Regions from separate parts of the Homo sapiens genome. Here regions 1 and 3 are each linked to region 2. The links are contacts of gene promoters, found by promoter capture Hi-C in blood cells and fetal thymus (Javierre and others, 2016). All regions are on one chromosome and are shown on one strand. The core of a region is centred on a gene start or on the middle of the fragment in contact, and the rest is flanking DNA. Distances in the headings are between cores, read along the strand shown. Region 1 overlaps LINC02453 (long intergenic non-protein coding RNA 2453). Region 2 holds the start of RLIG1 (RNA 5'-phosphate and 3'-OH ligase 1). Region 3 has its middle 5.6 kb from the start of TMPO.

What was found. Contacts are between HindIII fragments. The CHiCAGO score rates a contact against its expected background, and 5 or more counts as called.
Region 1: a contact is called between a fragment that was not itself captured here and the fragment with the promoter of RLIG1 in region 2, in 1 of 17 cell types (non-activated CD4 T cells). The highest score is 9.0, in non-activated CD4 T cells.
Region 3: a fragment that was not itself captured here is called in contact with the fragment with the promoter of RLIG1 in region 2 in 4 of 17 cell types (naive CD4 T cells, total CD4 T cells, activated CD4 T cells and 1 more); the score reaches 9.1 in naive CD4 T cells.

Annotation. Positions count from the first base shown.
Region 1 is chr12:98,486,804-98,490,971 of GRCh38, reverse strand. It overlaps LINC02453 (long intergenic non-protein coding RNA 2453), which reads left to right. Exons shown (of 4, transcript NR_038383.1): 4 at 3,784-4,168. Among named protein-coding and RNA genes, the nearest start is that of TRD-GTC1-1, 15 kb to the left of the region's middle. RefSeq lists a silencer at 147-441. The HindIII fragment of the contact is 2,579 bases long and covers 430-3,008 here.
Region 2 is chr12:88,034,270-88,038,580 of GRCh38, reverse strand. It overlaps RLIG1 (RNA 5'-phosphate and 3'-OH ligase 1), which reads right to left and starts at 3,045. Exons shown (of 7, transcript NM_001009894.3): 1 at 2,843-3,045. The coding sequence starts at 2,932. It overlaps LOC107984542 (a long non-coding RNA gene), which reads left to right and starts at 3,085. Exons shown (of 3, transcript XR_007063395.1): 1 at 3,085-3,167; 2 at 4,234-4,311. The HindIII fragment of the contact is 2,128 bases long and covers 2,491-4,311 here.
Region 3 is chr12:98,508,067-98,511,985 of GRCh38, reverse strand. No RefSeq gene overlaps it. Among named protein-coding and RNA genes, the nearest start is that of TMPO, 5.6 kb to the left of the region's middle. RefSeq lists enhancers at 1-428, 3,074-3,617. The HindIII fragment of the contact is 8,186 bases long and covers 1-3,919 here.

The sequences.
Region 1 (4,168 bases), core at 470-2,969, about 10 Mb before region 2:
AAAAAATTAAAAGCAGTATCTGGACTGCAAGTATTTAAAAAACCTAATAGGAAATAAGTCAACTCTCAAAGCATTTGGCACAGCTTTCTGGGTTCTAAAACTAAGAAAATCTTACTACATATGTTGTTTTATAAATACAGCATAAACCAGTACTTTGTTATTTGTTTTAAAAATTTCTTTTAGAGACAGGGTCTTGCTCTGTCACCCAGGCGGGAGAGCAGTGGTGCAATCTTAGCTCACTGCAGCCTTGAATTCCTGGCCTCGGGTGATCCTCCATGCTTCCGCCTCCCAAAGGACTGGGTTTACAGGTGTGAGTCACTGTGCCTGGCCTAGAACTTTGGATTAATTGCAAATAAATTAGGTGAAAGAGAGGTCTGGATACCTAGGCTTTAGCTTGACTGAGGATAATGATTTCCGCAACTTTAAGCTTTACCATGTAGACCAAAAATAAAATTCTAAGCTCCCCAATCAGTTGAATGGATGCCTCCTTGTCCAGGGGCATTCCAAAGTTACCTGAAACGCTAGTTCATGTCATGATGGGAACAGGTGGTCAGACAAGCCTCATTATACTCTCCTCCCTTTGGGACAGAGTCCCTTTGGGATTCAGGCACATCTGACCAGCATTAACATAAGTCTGACAAAGAAGGCTTTTTGTAGCAGTAAGATACCAACATGACAGACAGCAGGCCCTGAAGTAAATTGAAGTAGTTTACCCCAAAAAATATATATATATTTTTGACACATTTTGAAATGGCCCTGCAAAGGTGTCTCTTGTGGGGAAAATCTACTTTCAGTAGAGAATCCCCTTCCCTTTCCAGATATTTTTCCTTAACCAGGAGAGAATTTACTGAGAGTCTTGCACCTTAAAAAGGTAAAAAATAAAATTTTTGGCTGGGCATGGTGACTCACGCCTATAATCCCAGCACTTTGGGAGGCCAAGGCAGGTGAATCACCTGAAGGTCAGGAGTTCGAGACCAGCCAGGCCAACATGGTGAAACCCCATCTCTGGCTAATACAAAAATTAGCCAGGCATGGGGTGGGGGTGTGGGCGCCTGTAATCCTAGCTACTTGGGAGGCTGAGGCAGGAGAATTACTTGAACCTGGGAGGTGGAGGTTGCAGTGAGCCGAGATCACACCATTGCACTCCAGCCTGGGCAACAAGAGCGAAACTTCGTCTCAAAAAATAAAATAAAATAAAATAAAATAAAAAAAATAAATAAAAATTAAAAGTTTTACAATCTGACCTGGTGCTGTGGCCCACTCCTGTAATCCCAGCACTTTGGGAAGCCGAGGCAGGTGGGTTGCTTGAGCCCAGGAGTTCGAGATAAGTCTGGGCAACACGGTGAAACCCTGTCTCTACTAAAAATACAAAAATTACCAGGACGTAGTGGCGCGCATCTGTAATCCCAGCTACTCCAGAGGCTGAGAGGTGCGAGGATGGCTTGAGCCTGGGAGGTTGAGGCTGCAGTTAGCTGAGATTGCACCACTGCACTCCAGCCTGGGTGATGGAGTGAGACCCAGAAATAATTACAATGTGTTCTTTCTGAAGCCTGCTACCTGGAGGCTTTATCTGCATAACAAGAACCTTGGTTTTCGCAACCCCTTATCTTAATTCAGGCACTCCCTTCTATAAATTTCAGGTCTTTAGATAAACTCTTTCAACTAACTCCCAATCAGAAAATCTTTGAATTCACTCATGATGTAGAAGCGCCCCATCCACCCTCACTGAACCAATGTACATCTTACATGTATTTTTTGATGTCTTCTGTCTCTCTAAAATGTGTAATAAAAAGCTGTAGTCCGACCACTTTGAGCACACGTTCTCAGGATTTCCTGGGGCTGTGTCACTGGCCATGGTCACTCATATTTGGCTCAGAATAAGTCTCTTCAAATATTTTACAGAGTTTGACTCTTTTCTTCATCGACAATCAATATGTGAGAGTTGATACTGAAGGTCCCTTTTGTCTATAATATACTTCATTCTATCGCATTTTTCACCAGACTGTTTTGTTTGGTTTTTATAGAGATGAGATCTCACTTTGTTGCCCAGCCTGGTCTCTTGGGCTTAGGAGATCCTCCCTCCTCAGCCTTCTAAAGTTCTGGGATTACATGTGCGAGCCCCCACCCTCAAACTGTGCCTTTTTTTTTTTTTTTTGAGCCCGAGTCTCACTCTGTCACCCAGGCTGGAGTATAGTGCCACGATCTCGGCTCACTGCAACCTCCACCTCCCGGGTTCAAGCATTTCTCCCTGCTTCAGCCTCCCGAGTAGCTGGGATTACAGGCGTCCGCCACCATGCCTGGCTGATTTTTTTTTTCTTTTTTTTTGTATTTTTAGTAGAGACAGGATTTCGCCATGTTGGCCAGACTGGTTTTGAACTCCAGACCTCAGGTGATCTGCCTGCCTCAGCCTTCCAAAGTGCTGGGATTGCAGGTGTGAGCCACTGCACCTGGCTAAACTGTGCTTTTTAAAATTGTATTTCCACTAAAAAAATGTAGATGTAAAATATTTTTGGTTTAAATACTTGATTGATAAGATCTCAGGCGTGGTGGCCCATGCCTGCAATCCCAGCACTTTGGGAGGCTGAGGCGGGTAGATCACCTGAGGTCAGGAGTTCGAGAGCAGCCTGGCCAACATGGTGAAACCCCATCTCTACTAAAAATACAAAATTAGCCTGGCATGGTGGCATGCGCCTGTAATCCCAGCTCGGGAGGCTGAGGCAGGAGAATTGCTTGAACCTGGGAGGTAGAGGTTGCAGTGAGCCGAGATCACACCATTGCACTCTAGCCTGGGCAACAAGAGTGAAACTCCATCTCAAAAAAAAACAACAACAAACAAACAAACAAAAAAACCTCAGGCATTACAGTTTTATTTGAATAGGCAATTCATGCACACAGAACAAAGTTCAAAAAGTACCAGATACCAGGAGGTATAAGGTATGGAGAGGAAAGTCTTTCTCCCATTTTTTCTTCTCTTTTCTTTCTTTTTTTTTTTTTTTTTGAGACAAGCTTCTTTCTGTCACCCAGGCTGGAGTGCAATGGCGTGATCCCAGCTTGTTGCAACCTCTGCCTCTCGGCTTCAAGCAGTTCTTCTGCCTCAGCCTCCAGAGTAGCTGGGATTATAGGCATGCCACCATGCCCGGGTAAGTTTTGTATTTTTTAGTAGAGACAGGGTTTCACTAGGTTGGCCAGACTGGTGTCGAACTCCTGGCCTCAAGTGATCTGCCTGCCTCGGCCTCCCAAAGTGCTGGAATTATAGGCATGAAACACATGCCCAACTTCTCTCCCATTTCTAACTCACAACAATTCTCTTGAGTGATGTTGGGGTTGGTCTGGCAGCTCAACAAGGCCATCATAGGCTTTGAGTACTCTCTTCTTGTTCTGGGTCTTTCTTCTCTGCTACCTTTAGCAAAAGGACATTTCTTTTCATGATTGTCACTTCATGTCTGCAAAGTAGCTGCTGCAGCCATCATGGCCAGTTTCAAGGCTGGAACATGAGGGAAGAGGCAGCTCCAGCACACTATACTTTTGAATGTCCCTTTTTACTGGGAGAAAGCCTTTCCAGGGAAATCCTGACAGTTGTTTTCCTGTTTCATTAACCACTATTGGGCCACACAGAGGCTGGGAAACTGACTGCCAGGCAAAAGGGTATGAATAATGATTCTAATATTAGTTTTTTTTTTTTTTTATTCTAGTTTTCTGTGCTGGGTGTAAGAGCTGAAATTTGTTAGTATAACACCATTTTTCCTCAATTCAACAATGATGTTTTCATCATTTCTATTTCAGGAGATACATCCAGAAGACTGCATTACAATTTCAAATCAAAGCTGGACAAGTTTTTTTTTTTTTTTACACAGATATCACCATGTTAGAAAAGTTGGACAAGTTTTGAAACCATTCTGAACCTATCATTCCTGTCTTTCAAATCCTTCCAAGGCATCTTATTATTGATTTGTTTCTATATTTTCCTCATTATTAAAGAGGTTGAGTATCTTTTCTCTAGAGCTAGTTTGGGTTCTGATTTTCTTCACTTTCGTGATGGAGTCATTTTAGAATTGAAGGGCATCATAGCAACTGAGGCAGTGTTGACATCATCAATGTTTTAGGATTACAGGTAACCATATTTCCCAGTTTGCTTGGGACAAGGCCAGTTTGTACCTCTTGTCCTAGC
Region 2 (4,311 bases), core at 1,796-4,295:
GCTGTATCAGCTATGGTTTATTTACTTAAAAAATGTTCAAGATGGCAAAAGAAAAATTGCCTCTATAAAACAAATCTCTTGACTCTTGAGTTAGGCTTCACTTTGACAACAGTTTTCTTCACAGTTACCTGACATCCCCATGTAGTCTGATGAATTGTTTACTTTGAAAGTTGTATTTAGGAGTCTATGTTGATCTAAAAATCTTTGTGGTAACTCATTCAACAAAGCTTGAGCATCTAGTTTGTGAACGGCCTTGTCCTAGACTATGCAGGCAGAATATAAAAAAAGGAGTAAAACCCGCTGGCATCACCTCTTAGACGAGACCTCATATTAGCACTCCTGTAAATACAGCCCCACTGATAGCACAAGCTGGCCCACTATGCCATCTTAGAGATGTTATACCGTATACTTCAGAACCATTTTAGTTCTATGTCTTTGCACCATGAGTACTCAAGATTTGAAGTTGATTTTGTTTTTTTCATGTTTTTCCCCTAACAATTTTCACCGTTAAAACTAGTAAGAATCACTTGCCTTTTGTTTTTCCTTTGAGTTTGTTTGCTTTGAGAGTACTCACTTTTTGTCCCTTTCAGCTTTATCAGTAGTCAGCTGTTTACATATTTAATTTATGGTTTTTCTACTGTCAGGAAGAAGAAGGGCACCAAGGATGAGGAAAAGGCAGTTTCTTGGGTTCCTACTAACTTTTTATCTATAATTTATTTTCATTTCTGAAAAAGACTTATGCCACTTCTATAGTCTGTATCTGAAGTAGCATCATCTTACAAAGTGAAACAACACTGTACAATATAAACATACTGCTGTGTGTGAGCTTAAGACTTATGCACTATTGCAAACAGGTAAACTAAGAAATTAGCCCCTTCTAGTACTGATTCAATACTTTTAAAATATAATCGTCTAGTAGGGATTCAGTACTTTAAAAATACAACTGGTTTTCACTAACTTATGATGCTGGTTTCAAAGGATATCAATTTAACCCAGGGTGGTAGAGCCACAGGGTCTGGTCCAATAGCAGTGTGTGTGTATCTAAATTTATCAAAGATCCTATGTGGGGGGGAAGATTACTCTGCCCCATGGAGCTCCTGATGAGTATAAACATTCCTTCCATAAAAATCAATCATCTGCTCTTTGCTATCGACATATCCAAAGGACAACACGAGACACTGAGGGGTACACAAAGTTCTCCTTCTCCACCTGTCATAAAAGGCTTTAGACTATTACCGGAAAAACAAGGTACGTGTATTAAAATAGTGAATATCAATTGAGTGGCCCTCTACAATTTCTGGGTAGGGGAAATCACTGAAATGGCTAAATTGATAAGATTTTATGGAGAAGAACTGACTTGAAAAATTAAAAACACTCTAGAGGTGATCCAGAGTGAACAGTCTGAGCAAAAATATGAGACAGGATTGTGGTTGATATGTTCACAGGATGAAATAGATGGTTAAAACAGAATCCACTTTAAGGACGATGGAAGGTAGATTGAGCCTCATTAGTGGGAGGCCCTGAATTATAATTAAGAATGTGGATGCTATGCTATAAACGATACTGTAAGCTGTTCTTAACTGCAGAGAGGTAAGAGAAGGGGCTGCTTATTTTCCCTGGTGGAGAATACTTTCACAAACTACTCCCCTCAAACATACGAAGTTGAAAATCACAGTAGAGTGAAATACTAAAACAGATGATAATGTTTCATATGGATTACATTTGTTACAGCTAAAAAAAAAAGCCAATTACTGCTACAAACATTGAGTAATAACTGTGGTATTCTGACGAGGAAAGAACATGGTGATGATCAGTCTGAGTGGCAAGTAAGACCAGTTAGGTGGTGCAATGAGCAGGACATGAAATATTAACTGTAACAGCTGTGACAGCACTAGAAAGCAGGAAAAGATCAGATGCTATAAGGTAAAAAGCATCAAGGTGAATGGAAAACTGGCATGAAATGATTCCAGGGTTCATTCTTTAATTCAACAAATATTTATCCAGTGCCTACCACGTGCCAGGTCCTAGAAGCTGGGACTAAAGATAACAGGGCAATCTTTGCCTTAAACAAGTTTTAGTCCAGAAGACGAGAAAGCCAGTGCCAATGATGAAACTCAAGTGAGGTGGATTTCCAATGGACATGTTGGTTTTGTTTGAAATCAGCAAAGTTGGGAAGCACCCAACTAATCACTGGGGATTCTACTGATCAAAGACTACAACGTTTTATAGTACAATATGAAAAAATTACCCAAATATAGGTTACTCACTAGCATTTACCGAGGGCACACTATGGAAAACACGTTGCTGCAACAGAAAACCTTGAGAACACCAAAGTTAGAATAAATTAAGTAATTACTGGTAATATGAGGTGTGAACTTCAGTGACCTAATTAGGCTACTGTCAACACCGCCACTGGTTCGGACAGAACAGGTAAAGCAAGTCTTCTAATATCCACCCTTTCTTACTGCACTCTTGAAAAGTAGTAAAGCTTGGACTGTGGCAATTACCTGATTAGGGGGTTTCCCCAAAAGGTGCTGACCTGAAAAGGAAGGGACATGCTGTGGATGTGAGTTATCCATTTCCTTGCGAGGACAAGTTTGAATCTCCTGATAAGGAAAATTCTTTCGCAAATTCCCTCCCTCACAACTAAGAAAAGTACAAGAACCTGGAGCTCAGGGCGTACGGAACTCCCACCCCAGACCTCCCCAGGGAAACCTACAGAGGTTCCTGGCCTGCAGGGCAGTTCTAAAGCGCCCAGCCGCCCTCGCCGGGTTCGCACTGAGCCAGCGCCGCGGGGAGGAGCCCACGCGGGCCGCCAAGCCTGCCCGGCGCTCCTCCGTACCTGATGCTCCCTTTTGGAGGAAGGCTCCTCTTTCACCTCCGTCACAAACACACACGGCATTTTCCGCTGCACGGAGCCCAAGCGCTTCATGATGAGCCCAACAAGCAGTGCGAATGGAGGGCGTGCTTTCGAGCGGCGCCCGGTCCAGTCGCGGAGAAGCCCTGAAGCAGTCACCCGCACGGCTCAGGCCACGCACACTCCGCGCCCAGCCACCGCGGCTGCGCCCCAACTACCAAGCCCAGCGAGGGGCGGGAACGCCCGTCCAGAAGCGGCTTCCTGGCCGCGGCGCCTTCTGGGAGTTGTAGTGCAGAAGCTGAGGCGCCTGGTGGGTTCCCACGTGCGTCCTCCGCCCCCCACCCTCGGTTTTAATAACCGTGAAAAAAAAAAAAAAAAGATGCGTTTCCCGAACGTGGGTACTTAGCAATACCTAGTAACTAATGATTTTTTGGGAAATTAAATAAGATCAAATTATAAGCAATGAACATTTCAGATGTCGATTTAACACAGTTCCAATGGAAACTGCTTGCCTGTTATCTTTAGTTCGTGGGGGAAGCACTGTAGAAGTTTAGAAATGGCTAGAGACATCCCCAGATTCCCAAGCAGAATGAAAACTTCCTTTCCGGTAAGACTATCAGAAAACCCTATAATAAAACACCTGGGATCAAAAAAAGTTGTCGTTTGAACTACTCCTTATTGTGCAGCATAGCATGGTCGAAATGATTCTGATGTTCTTTTCGGAGTGAGTGCGAAATTTCAGCCTTAGACTAATCCAAAAGTACAGGAATACCTACAACCAGATTTCATTCTCAAGTTTTTCATAAGAATCTTGTTTAATTAAAGGTGAGCTCCAACAGCCCAAATGGCTTGAGTAATGGTAGTCAATCAACTGCGAGCTAAAAACAGCCTTAACTTACTGCTCAAAAGAATATTTTGAGGGTAAGTGATAAGATGGACAATGACTAAATAAAATAAATACTAAATATTTAGGAATAGTAGCCTTTCCATCTCATTGAATGTAGTAGTTCCTAGCCTGAAGTTGTAGGGGAATTTTGACTTTACTGCCATCCTTTATGGGCTTGGACTAGGCCCAGGTCTCATTTCTTTGTCTTATCTGCATGTACTCAACTGTCCAGCATGTTACTGACTTAGCCCTTGGAAAAATTAAACAACTATATCTCACTTAGAGGTATCTAACTAGTAAGGGGGTTCTCAAAGAATAAAACATCTTCCTTTAAAAAGTTCACAGTTATATTGAATACTGACAGTGAAAAAAAATAAAATTTAAAAAAAGTTCACAGTTTTTTGATTACTGGATTCAGAGGGGAGGGAGGAAGAAAGAGATTTGCCATTTCAAAGTGTTTACTTTCTTTTCTACTATCTTTTTCTCACAGGAAAACACAAAATGTTCTCCCACATCACACCCCGCCTGCATTTATCAAAAAAGAAAACACCTGATGCTGGCTGTGTGC
Region 3 (3,919 bases), core at 1,318-3,817, about 10 Mb before region 2:
TGTTGCCGAGCCTGGAGTGCAGTAGCACAATCTCAGCCCACTGTAACCTCTGCCTCCCAGGTTCAAGCAATTCTTCTGCCTCAGCCTCCCAAGTAGCTGGGATTACAGGCGCCTGCTGCCACGCCCAGCTAATTTTTTTGTAATATAGTAGAGACAAGAGTTTCACCATGTTGACCAGGCTGGTCTCAAACTCCTGACCTCAGGCAATCCACCCGCCTCAGCCTCCCAAATTGCTGGGATTACAGGCATGAGCCACTGCGTCTGGCCTGATGCAATTTTTTTTTTTTTTAAATCAGAAAACTTTCCCATAACTTAAAAAAAAATCATCTGGAGGTGGGCCCGGTGGCTCACGCCTGTAATCCCAGCACTTTGGGAGGCTGAGGCAGGCAGATCACCTGAGGTCGGGAATTTGAGACCATGTGGAGAAACCCCGTCTCTACTAAAAATACAAAATTAGCCTGGCGTGGTGGCGCATGCCTGTAATCCAAGCTACACGGGAGGCTGAGGCAGGAGAATCACTTGAACCCGGGAGGCGGAGGTTGTGGTGAACCGAGATCGTGCAATTGCATTCCAGCCTGGGCAACACGAGCGAAACTCCATCTCAAAACAAACAAACAAACAAAAATCACCTGGATAACTGCCTCCATTCTTTTTTTGAAGTTCTTAATATTATTAACATACAGCTGGCTTTGTTTTTCATTATCCCATTTTGCGGAGGATTGGTTGTGAATTTAAGGGTGTCACCTCAAACAGGAGGGTAAGTTGCACTTTAAGTGATGTAAAATAGTAAGAAGCTAAAAACCTTAAAAAATGTTTAGTTCTCGGCCGGGCGTCGTGGCTCATGCCTGTAATTCCAGCACTTTGGGAGGCTGGGGTGGGCGGATCACTTGAAGTCATGAGTTCGAGCTCAGCCTGGCCAAGAAATTAAAAAATTAGCTGGGCCTTGTGGTGGGCGCCTGTAATCTCAGCTACTAGGGAGGCTGAGGTAGGAGAATCGCTTGAACCCGGGAGGCAGAGGTTGCAGTGAGCCGAGATCGTGCCACTGCACTCCAGCCTGGGCGACCGATCAAGACTCCATCTTAAAAAAAAATAATAAGAGGGGCCAGGAGCGGTGGCTCACACCGGTAATCCCAGCACTTGGGGAGGCCAAGGCGGGCAGATCACATCAGGAGTTCGAGACCAGCCTGACCAACATGGTGGAAGCCCCTCTCTACTGAAAATACAAAAGTTAGCCGTGCCTGGTGGCATGCGCCTGTAATCCCAGCTACTTGGGAGGCTGAGGTGGGAGAATCCCTTGAACCCGGGAGGCGGAGGTTGCAGTGAGCTGAGATGGCACCATTGCACTCCAGCCTGGGCAACAGAACGAGACTCGGTCTCTCAAAAAAAAAAAAAGTTTAGCTCCCTTAAGCCATTTCTGATAATTTATTCTAAAGATAAAATCAAATGTGGAATTCATTTATAAAGGTATTTATTGCTTCATTTATAATGGTGAAAAAAATAAAAAATCTCTATCTCCAATAGTAAGGAATTGGTTGTTTATGATATATCCATATGACAAAATAATGCACAGTAGTAAAAAATCATGTTTTGACATTTAAGAATATGAGGCTGGCTTGGTGGCTGTCACCTATAATCCCAGTACTTTGGAAGGCTGAGGTGGGAGGATCCCTTGAGCTCAGGAGTTTGAGACCAGCCTGGGCAACATAGGGAGACCCCAGTCTCTACTAAAAATAACCAAAAATTAGGTGGGGCCGGGCACGGTGGCTCACGTCTGTAATCCCAGCACTTTGGGAGGCCGAGGCGGGCGGATCACCCAAGGTCAGGGGTTCAAGACCAGCCTGGCCAACGTGGCGAAACCCTGTCTCTACTAAAAATACAGTAATTATCCAGGTGTGGTGGTGGGCACCTGTAATCCCCAGCTACTTGGGAGGCTGAGGCAGAAGAATCACCTGAACCTGGGAGGCGGAGGTTGCAGTGAGCCAAGATCTCGCCATTGCACTCCAGCCTGGGCAAGAGCGGAACTCAGTCTCAAAAAAAAAGAAAAAAAAAAAATTAGCTGGCATGCTGGTGTGCTCCTGTACTCCCAGCTATTGGGGAGGCAAAAAAAAAAAAAAAAAAAAGAAAAGAAAAGAAAAAAAATAATATACATCAAAGTGGAGTACTTTCTCTTGGATAGTGAGGCACAGGTGATTCTTATTTTCTTTTTATTTATATGTCTGTATTTCCCTAGATTTCCACAATGAACACATATGATTTTAAAACCATATTTTTCTTTTTAAGTGAGAGTGCTAAGTTGGAGAACCATTTGGCTTATCAGAATTCAGGTCTGCATTTCAATTCTGCGTGTCCAAAAGCTCAATTTTATTAGTTCGTCCAGAATACATCGCTCTGTAAACCAAGAGAATCGGAGACAGGTCTCAATCAATTTAGAAAGTTTATTTTGCCAAGGTTAAGGACACACCCATGACACAGCCTCAGGAGGTCCTGACGACATGTGCCCAAGGTTGTGTGGCACAGCTTGGTTTTATACATTTTAGGGAGACATGAGACATCAATCAATATGTTTAAGATGTACAATGGTCCCATCCAGAAAGGCGGGACAGCTATTAATACAAGTGGGGGTTGGGGGGCTCCGGGGTGTTCCAGGTCATAGGTAGATAAAAGACCAATGGTTGCATTCTTTTGAGTTGCTGATTAGCCTTTCACTGAATACACTATTTACAGGAATAGTCACTTATGTTAGTCTGGCTTAGGGAAACAAAAGGGCAATCAGATATGCATTTATCTCATATGAGCAGAGGGATGACTTTTTAAATCTCTATCTGTCCTTTGTCCACAAGGAATTTCTTTGTGGTCAAATTGTGAGGGAGGTATATATAGCTTTTTTATCTTAGTAGCTATCTTTTTTTTTAGGAGTAGAATGGGAGGCAGGTTTGCCCTAAGCAGTTCCCAGCTTGACTTTCCCTTTGGCTTAGTCATTTTTGGGGTCCTGATGTTAGAGGGGTTTGAATCACAGCACCTCCATGTTGAAAAAAGGGTGGGTAAGGCCGTGCACGGTGGCCCATGCCTGTAATCCCAGCACTTTGGGAGGCCAAGGTGGGTGGATCACCTGAGGTCGGGAGTTTGAGACCAGCCTGATCAACATGGAGAAACCCTGTCTCTACTAAAAATACAAAATTAGCTGGGCGTGGTGGCACATGCCTGTAATCCCAGCTACTCAGGAGGCTGAGGCAGAAGAATCGCTTGAACCCGGGAGGCGGAGGTTGTAGTGAGCCAAGATCGCGCCATTGCAGTCCAGCCTGGACAACGAGCAAAACTCCGTCTCAAAAAAAAAAAAAAAAAAAAAAGAAAAGACCTACTGGGCTGCATTCCCAGACAGTTAAGGCATTTTAAGTCACAAGACGAGATAGGAGGTCGGCAGAAGATACAGGTCATAGGCCGGGCACGGTGGCTCACGCCTGTAATCCCAGCACTTTGGGAGGCCAAGGCAGGTGGATCACGAGGTCAGGAGTTCGAGACCAGCCTGACCAACATGGTGAAACCCTGTCTCTACTAAAAATACAAAAATTAGCTGGGCGTGGTGGCGCGTGCCTGTAGTCCCAGCTACTCAGGAGGCTGAGGCAGAAGAATTGCTTGAACCTGGGAGGTGGAGGTTGCAGTGAGCTGAGATTGCACCACTGCACTCCAGCCTGGGCGAGAGTGAGACTCTGTCTCAAAAAAAAAAAAAAAAAAAAAAAAAAAGACACAGGTCATAAAGACCTTGCTGGTGAAACAGGTTGCAGTAGCCTGCCAAAACCCACCAAAACCAAGATGGCGATGAGAGTGACCTCTGGTTGTCCTCACTGCTACACTCCCACCAGCACCATGACAGTTTACAAATGCCATGGCAATGTCAGGAGGTTACCCTATATGGTCTAAA